Regions from separate parts of the Homo sapiens genome. Here region 2 is linked to region 1. The links are contacts of gene promoters, found by promoter capture Hi-C in blood cells and fetal thymus (Javierre and others, 2016). All regions are on one chromosome and are shown on one strand. Each heading gives the region's core, a stretch centred on a gene start or on the middle of the fragment in contact. The rest is flanking DNA. Distances are from core to core; before and after follow the strand shown.

What was found. The method cuts DNA at HindIII sites, captures the fragments that hold promoters and counts their contacts. A CHiCAGO score of 5 or more calls a contact.
Region 2: a contact is called between a fragment that was not itself captured here and the fragment with the promoter of TAOK3 in region 1, in 1 of 17 cell types (neutrophils). The highest score is 7.1, in neutrophils.

Annotation. Positions count from the first base shown.
Region 1 is chr12:118,371,477-118,374,176 of GRCh38, reverse strand. TAOK3 (TAO kinase 3) reads left to right here and starts at 1,270. Exons shown (of 21, transcript NM_016281.4): 1 at 1,270-1,529. RefSeq lists an enhancer at 777-826 and silencers at 1,147-1,396, 2,181-2,240, 2,341-2,430. The HindIII fragment of the contact is 12,374 bases long and covers 578-2,700 here.
Region 2 is chr12:112,402,672-112,405,371 of GRCh38, reverse strand. It overlaps RPL6 (ribosomal protein L6), which reads left to right. Exons shown (of 7, transcript NM_000970.6): 7 at 1-183. The coding sequence ends at 148. Among named protein-coding and RNA genes, the nearest start is that of RPL6, 5.6 kb to the left of the region's middle. The HindIII fragment of the contact is 3,014 bases long and covers 1-2,700 here.

The DNA of each region.
Region 1 (2,700 bases), core at 21-2,520:
CTTGACCTCAGGTGATGAATGGCGTATGATTCTTAAAACACTAGAAGAAACATGTATACTGTTTAGAACACAAACACATTTTGTCAGCTGGAGTTAAAAAGTTAACAATCGAGGGTTCTCTGAGAACTAAGGCCTGTATACATCTGACAAAACTTAGGATCAAAATGTGTTCCTGAGACAATTTCTTCATAAAATGCTAAATTCTAAAGTCCATAAACTTACTTTTGGCGTTAAGAGTAAGGAAAGCAGTTTTCTGTTTCCGGTGTTGATTTGATCAGCATATCCAGTTTCACAAAAATAACACAAATGGGTCTTAGTAGCATGATGCACTTTCACCCCTGGCAGGCACTATCCTTTAGCGTGGATCAAGAGGAGTCTCTGATTATCACATGTTAAACCTGGGTCAAAGCTCGTTATCCTTTGGCCACACGTTCACATAGAATCATTAAAACCTGTGGCCCTGGAAAAAGGTTATATTGAATAGCTTTGCTGAAACCTTGTTAAGCTAATAATAGGGTTCCCCTACCACAGTCTTCCTACTGTCATAAAAACCTACAAACTGAAAATTTCTAAAGCTTTGTCCTTGCACCTATCAAAATGTGCCCCGCATTGAACGCTTAGTTGGGCAAAGTATGCACCTAGTACTGTATATAGATTTTTTTTCCCCCAACGGTATCAAACTGACGGCTGCTGAACTCAATTCAAGGAGAGGCAACTCCCTTGCAAGAGATTTTAAAAAGAAATGGTTTAAATCCAGGAAATTTTTACAAATCCTGGGCAAATTAATGCTATATTAGTTCATGGCAGAATTACTAAGAAAGCTGTGCAAGGTCTAGCGAGAGACTGGGGTCCTCCCCAAAGGCTCTAACATGGTGGTCCCTGGGAATCTCCCAAGAAAAGTAAAGGCGTGGGGAGAAGCGCCATGAACTTTGACCGGAGAGCAGCACAAACAAGACTGACCGCACCCCAGGCGGGCCCGTAGGTTACTAAAGTTGCAAGGTCTTCCGCGTCTGAGGAGACCCCGCCCTGCCCTGTCCCGCCCATCGACAACTCCGCCAATCCTCGGGTTCCATCGACCGCTCGGCTTCCCAGGCTCCATCAATCAAATACCTATATACGGCCCCGGCCCTGTGCCCCGCGATCAGGGAAGGTCAGTAGAGAGCCTATTGGAGCCGAGCTTGGGGCGTGGTCCGGGGCAGGGGGCGGGCGGACTGAGACGGTGGGGCGGGGCGTGCTCGGCGCAGTCCGGTGCGATTGGCCACCCCTGGCAGGAGCCGCACCTCGGACAGCAGCAGCGGCGGCGGCCGCGGGAGGGTCCTTGTGGCGCCGGGCGGCGGGGTCCTGCGTGGAGAGTGGGACGCAACGCCGAGACCGCGAGCAGAGGCTGCGCACAGCCGGATCCGGCACTCAGCGACCGGACCCAAGGATCCGCCGGGGAACAAGCCACAGGAGAGCGACTCAGGAACAAGTGTGGGAGAGGAAGCGGCGGCGGCGGCGCCGGGCCCGGGGGTGGTGACAGCAGGTCTGAGGTGAGAGCACCGGGGCGCGGGGCATGACAGTGGGAGCCGAGGCGGCGGGACCCCAGGCAGAGTGAGGGGAGTTGCGGGAGCGGGCTCGACAGTGCAGACTGTGGAGAGGAGACCCCGGGAGGGACCGGGACAGCGGGTGAGGAGAGGGGACTCCGAGAGGGACCGAGGCAGTGGCTCTGAGTGGAGAGGACTCCGAGAGGGTCCAAGACTGAAAGTCTGAGGGGAGGGGTCTCCAAGAGGGGCCGGGACAGTGCGCGTGAGAGGAAGGGACCCGGAGAGGGGCTGGGGTAGTGGGGTGAGGGGTGGGTGCCTCATGAGGCACTAGGATAGGGGGATGAGGGGAGGGGGTCCCCTGAAGGACCAGGTCCCAGAAAAGGTCAGGGACAGCGGGGAGAGGGGAAGGGTCCCCGAGAGGGGCCGGCACTGAGAGTCTGAGAGATGGGGACCCCGAGAGGGGCTGGGACAGCACCCGGGGAGAGGAGACCCCGAGGTGAGGGGAGGGGACCCAGAGAGAATCCAGGACAGAGTAAAGAGAGGGGACCGGTCAGGGGATGTGAAGACAGGGGATCCCCAGAGGGCTTAGAACAGAGTGTGAGAAGACCCCAGGAAGGGCCAAGACAGTGGGAGAAGAGGAGGGGTCCCGGAAGGGGGCTGGGCTGAGACAGCGGGGCTGAGAGCAGGACACCTAGAGAGAGGCCGGGACAGCGGGTGGGAGCAGGGTGACCCCGAGAGGGGCCAGGACAGCGGGGTGAGAGGAGGGGACCCCCAGAGGGCTCGGGACAGCGCATGCGAGCGTGGGACTCCGAGAGGGGCTTTGAGCGTCGGGTGCAGGCGCGGACCCCGAGGGAGGAGCGGTGCCCCATGGGTGCGGGTCGGGCCCCCAGTCACATAGCGGGGGCCCGGCGTGAGCAGCGAGGGAGCGGGCGGGGGGTCGCGCCCGCTGAGTTGCGGGAGCCCCCCCAAGAACGGCTGCGGCGGGGAGCCTGGGTCGCAGTCGCGGCGTCGGGCAAATAGGAACCGGCTGCAGCGCAGACGAGTGGAGCGGGGAGGTGCTCCCAGGGTCTGGCATCAGCGACCTCCCTGAGGGTGGAGTGTGAGCCCCCGGGACTCCGGGGGACTCCGGAGCCGGATTATGTCATGAAACATCTCTGAAGTGAAACGCATGGGCTGG
Region 2 (2,700 bases), core at 61-2,560, 6.0 Mb after region 1:
TGAGATTACGGAGCAGCGCAAGATTGATCAGAAAGCTGTGGACTCACAAATTTTACCAAAAATCAAAGCTATTCCTCAGCTCCAGGGCTACCTGCGATCTGTGTTTGCTCTGACGAATGGAATTTATCCTCACAAATTGGTGTTCTAAATGTCTTAAGAACCTAATTAAATAGCTGACTACATTTTGTGTCTCTTTTTTTAATTTTTGGTTTTTAAAAAAAATTCTTACCTACCTGAAGGTGTAGTTTGACCATGCCAGCTCACCTGGGGGTTTTCCTTAGTAGAGAATGGGATTGGAAGGGAGTGGTGTCTACAAGAGAGCTAGTTTGTTGGCTTTGCATTGCTGTTCTTGGCTTCAGATTGGTTCTTGGTGCCTGGCTAATAACTTTTTCACCCACCCTCTACCATTGTGAAGTGGTGGCATTTTCTCACTCGTCCCTGAAGAAGTCAGTGCTAAACTGTACATGGATGAGAGAAGAGAATAACTGCTGACTACTCAGACAACAAACTCCCATTTCTCCCCGCTGTGCTCAATTCTCAACTCCTCCCCAATAATTATGAGGCCGTGCTCTTGTTTCCCAGGCCAGTGCAGTGGCTGTTCATGGGCACGTTTATCACATATGGCCCCAGTTCCTATTGCCTGGGCTGGTTCAACTCCTGGGCTCTAGCTATCCTCCTGCCTAGACCTCAAGGTATTGGGATTATAGGCATAAGCCACCACACCCTGCCAGATTTGTGCATTTTAATTTTGGCAGATTCTTCCAAACACTCCCAAGTGTTAGACCACTTTATTTGTTCTGGAAATGTACAGAGTACCCATCTTCTTATAGGTAGGTTATCAAACTTGGATTTTTGCCAATGGAAAATGAAAAATGGGCTGTGTGTGCTGGCTTCCACCTGAAACCCCCACATTTTGGGAGGTGGGGCCAGGAGGCTCACTTGAGCCTAGGAGGTCCAGGCTGTGGTGACCTGTGATTTCACCACTGCACACCATCCTGGATGACAGACCCTGTGTCCAAAAAAGGTGAAAAAAGGCTGGGTGCCATGGCTCAACCTGTAATCCCAGCCCTTTGGGAGGCCGAAGTGGGCTGATCAGCTGAGGTCAGGATTTTGAAACCAGCCTGGCGAACATGGTGAAACCCCATCTCCACTAAAAATACAAAAAAAAATTAGCTGGACATGGTGGCAGGTATCTATAATCCCAGCTACTCGGGAGGCTGAGGCAGGAGAATTTGGACGGGAGGCAGAGGTTGCAGTAAGTGACATCACACCACTGCACTCCAGCCTGGGCGACAGAGCAAGACTGTCTCAAAAAAAAAAAGTTGCTAGAATATTTTAAAATGACATGTCATGTTTATATAAGTAACATTTTTATTAAAAAAAAAAACTTGAGCCAGGCACAGTGGCTCACACCTGTAATGTGTGCACTCCAGCCTGGGCAACAAGAGCAAAACTCTGTCTCAAAAAATAAATAAGCCCAGCCTGCGTGTACCTGTGGTTCCAGCTACTTGAGAGGCTGAGATGGGAGGATGGCTTGAGCCTGGGAGTTCGAGTCTTCAGTGAGCTGTGATTGCACCACTGCACTCCAGCCTGGGCAACAGAGCAAGACCCTGTCTCTAAAAAAATAATTTTTCCAAAACAAAAAATTATGAGGACAATGGTTTTACATTTCTGCAAATGTATTTCATGTCTGGCTTCGTAGGAGACAGATTCTTATATCTGCTTTATTCAATCTATTGCAGTATCACATTATGTATTACACCTCAGGAGAACTCCATTCTACACTCGAGTTAAAAGGACAATGTCTTAACAGTAGTATGACAAATTGTTTTAACTTCACAGGTCCCTTTTTAAGGATCTCAGGAACATCTAAAGATCCCTAGATCCGGCCGGGCGCGGTGGCTCACGCCTGTAATCCCAGCACTTTGGGAGGACGAGGCGGGCGGATCACGAGGTCAGGAGATCGAGACCATCCCGGCTAAAACGGTGAAACCCCGTCTCTACTAAAGATACAAAAAATTAGCCGGGCGTAGTGGCGGGCGCCTGTAGTCCCAGCTACTTGGGAGGCTGAGGCAGGAGAATGGCGTGAACCCGGGAGGCGGAGCTTGCAGTGAGCCGAGATCCCACCACTGCACTCCAGCCTGGGCGACAGAGCGAGACTCCGTCTCAAAAAAAAAAAAAAAAAAAAAAAAAAAGATCCCTAGATCCTACTTTGAGAATCATTGCACTAGCCTCTGCATTGTTTCAAAGATTTGGGATCAAACAGATTCTGCCCCTTTTGACCAATAGAATGTGGCATAAGTGATGTGGAGTCTTGCTCTGTCGCCCAGGCTGGAGTGCAGTGGTGCCATCTCGGCTCACTGCAACCTCTGCCTCCCAAGTTCAAGTGATTCTTCTGCCTCAGCCTCCTGCATAGCTGGGATTACAGGCGCCTGCCACTCTGCCCAACTAATTTTTTTTTTTTTGTATTTTTGTATTTTTAGTAGAGAGAGGGTTTCACCATGTTGGCCAGGCTGGTCTGGAACTCCTGACCTCAAGTGATCCTCCTGCCTCAGCCTCCCAAAGTGCTGGGATTACAGACGTGAGCCACCATGCCTGGCATGTGTCTTTATTTTCTTTTACTTACCCACATGAGCTAACTTTCTAAAAGCACATATACTGCTTTTATAACAAAAGATTATTGTTATCTTAAAAAGCAAA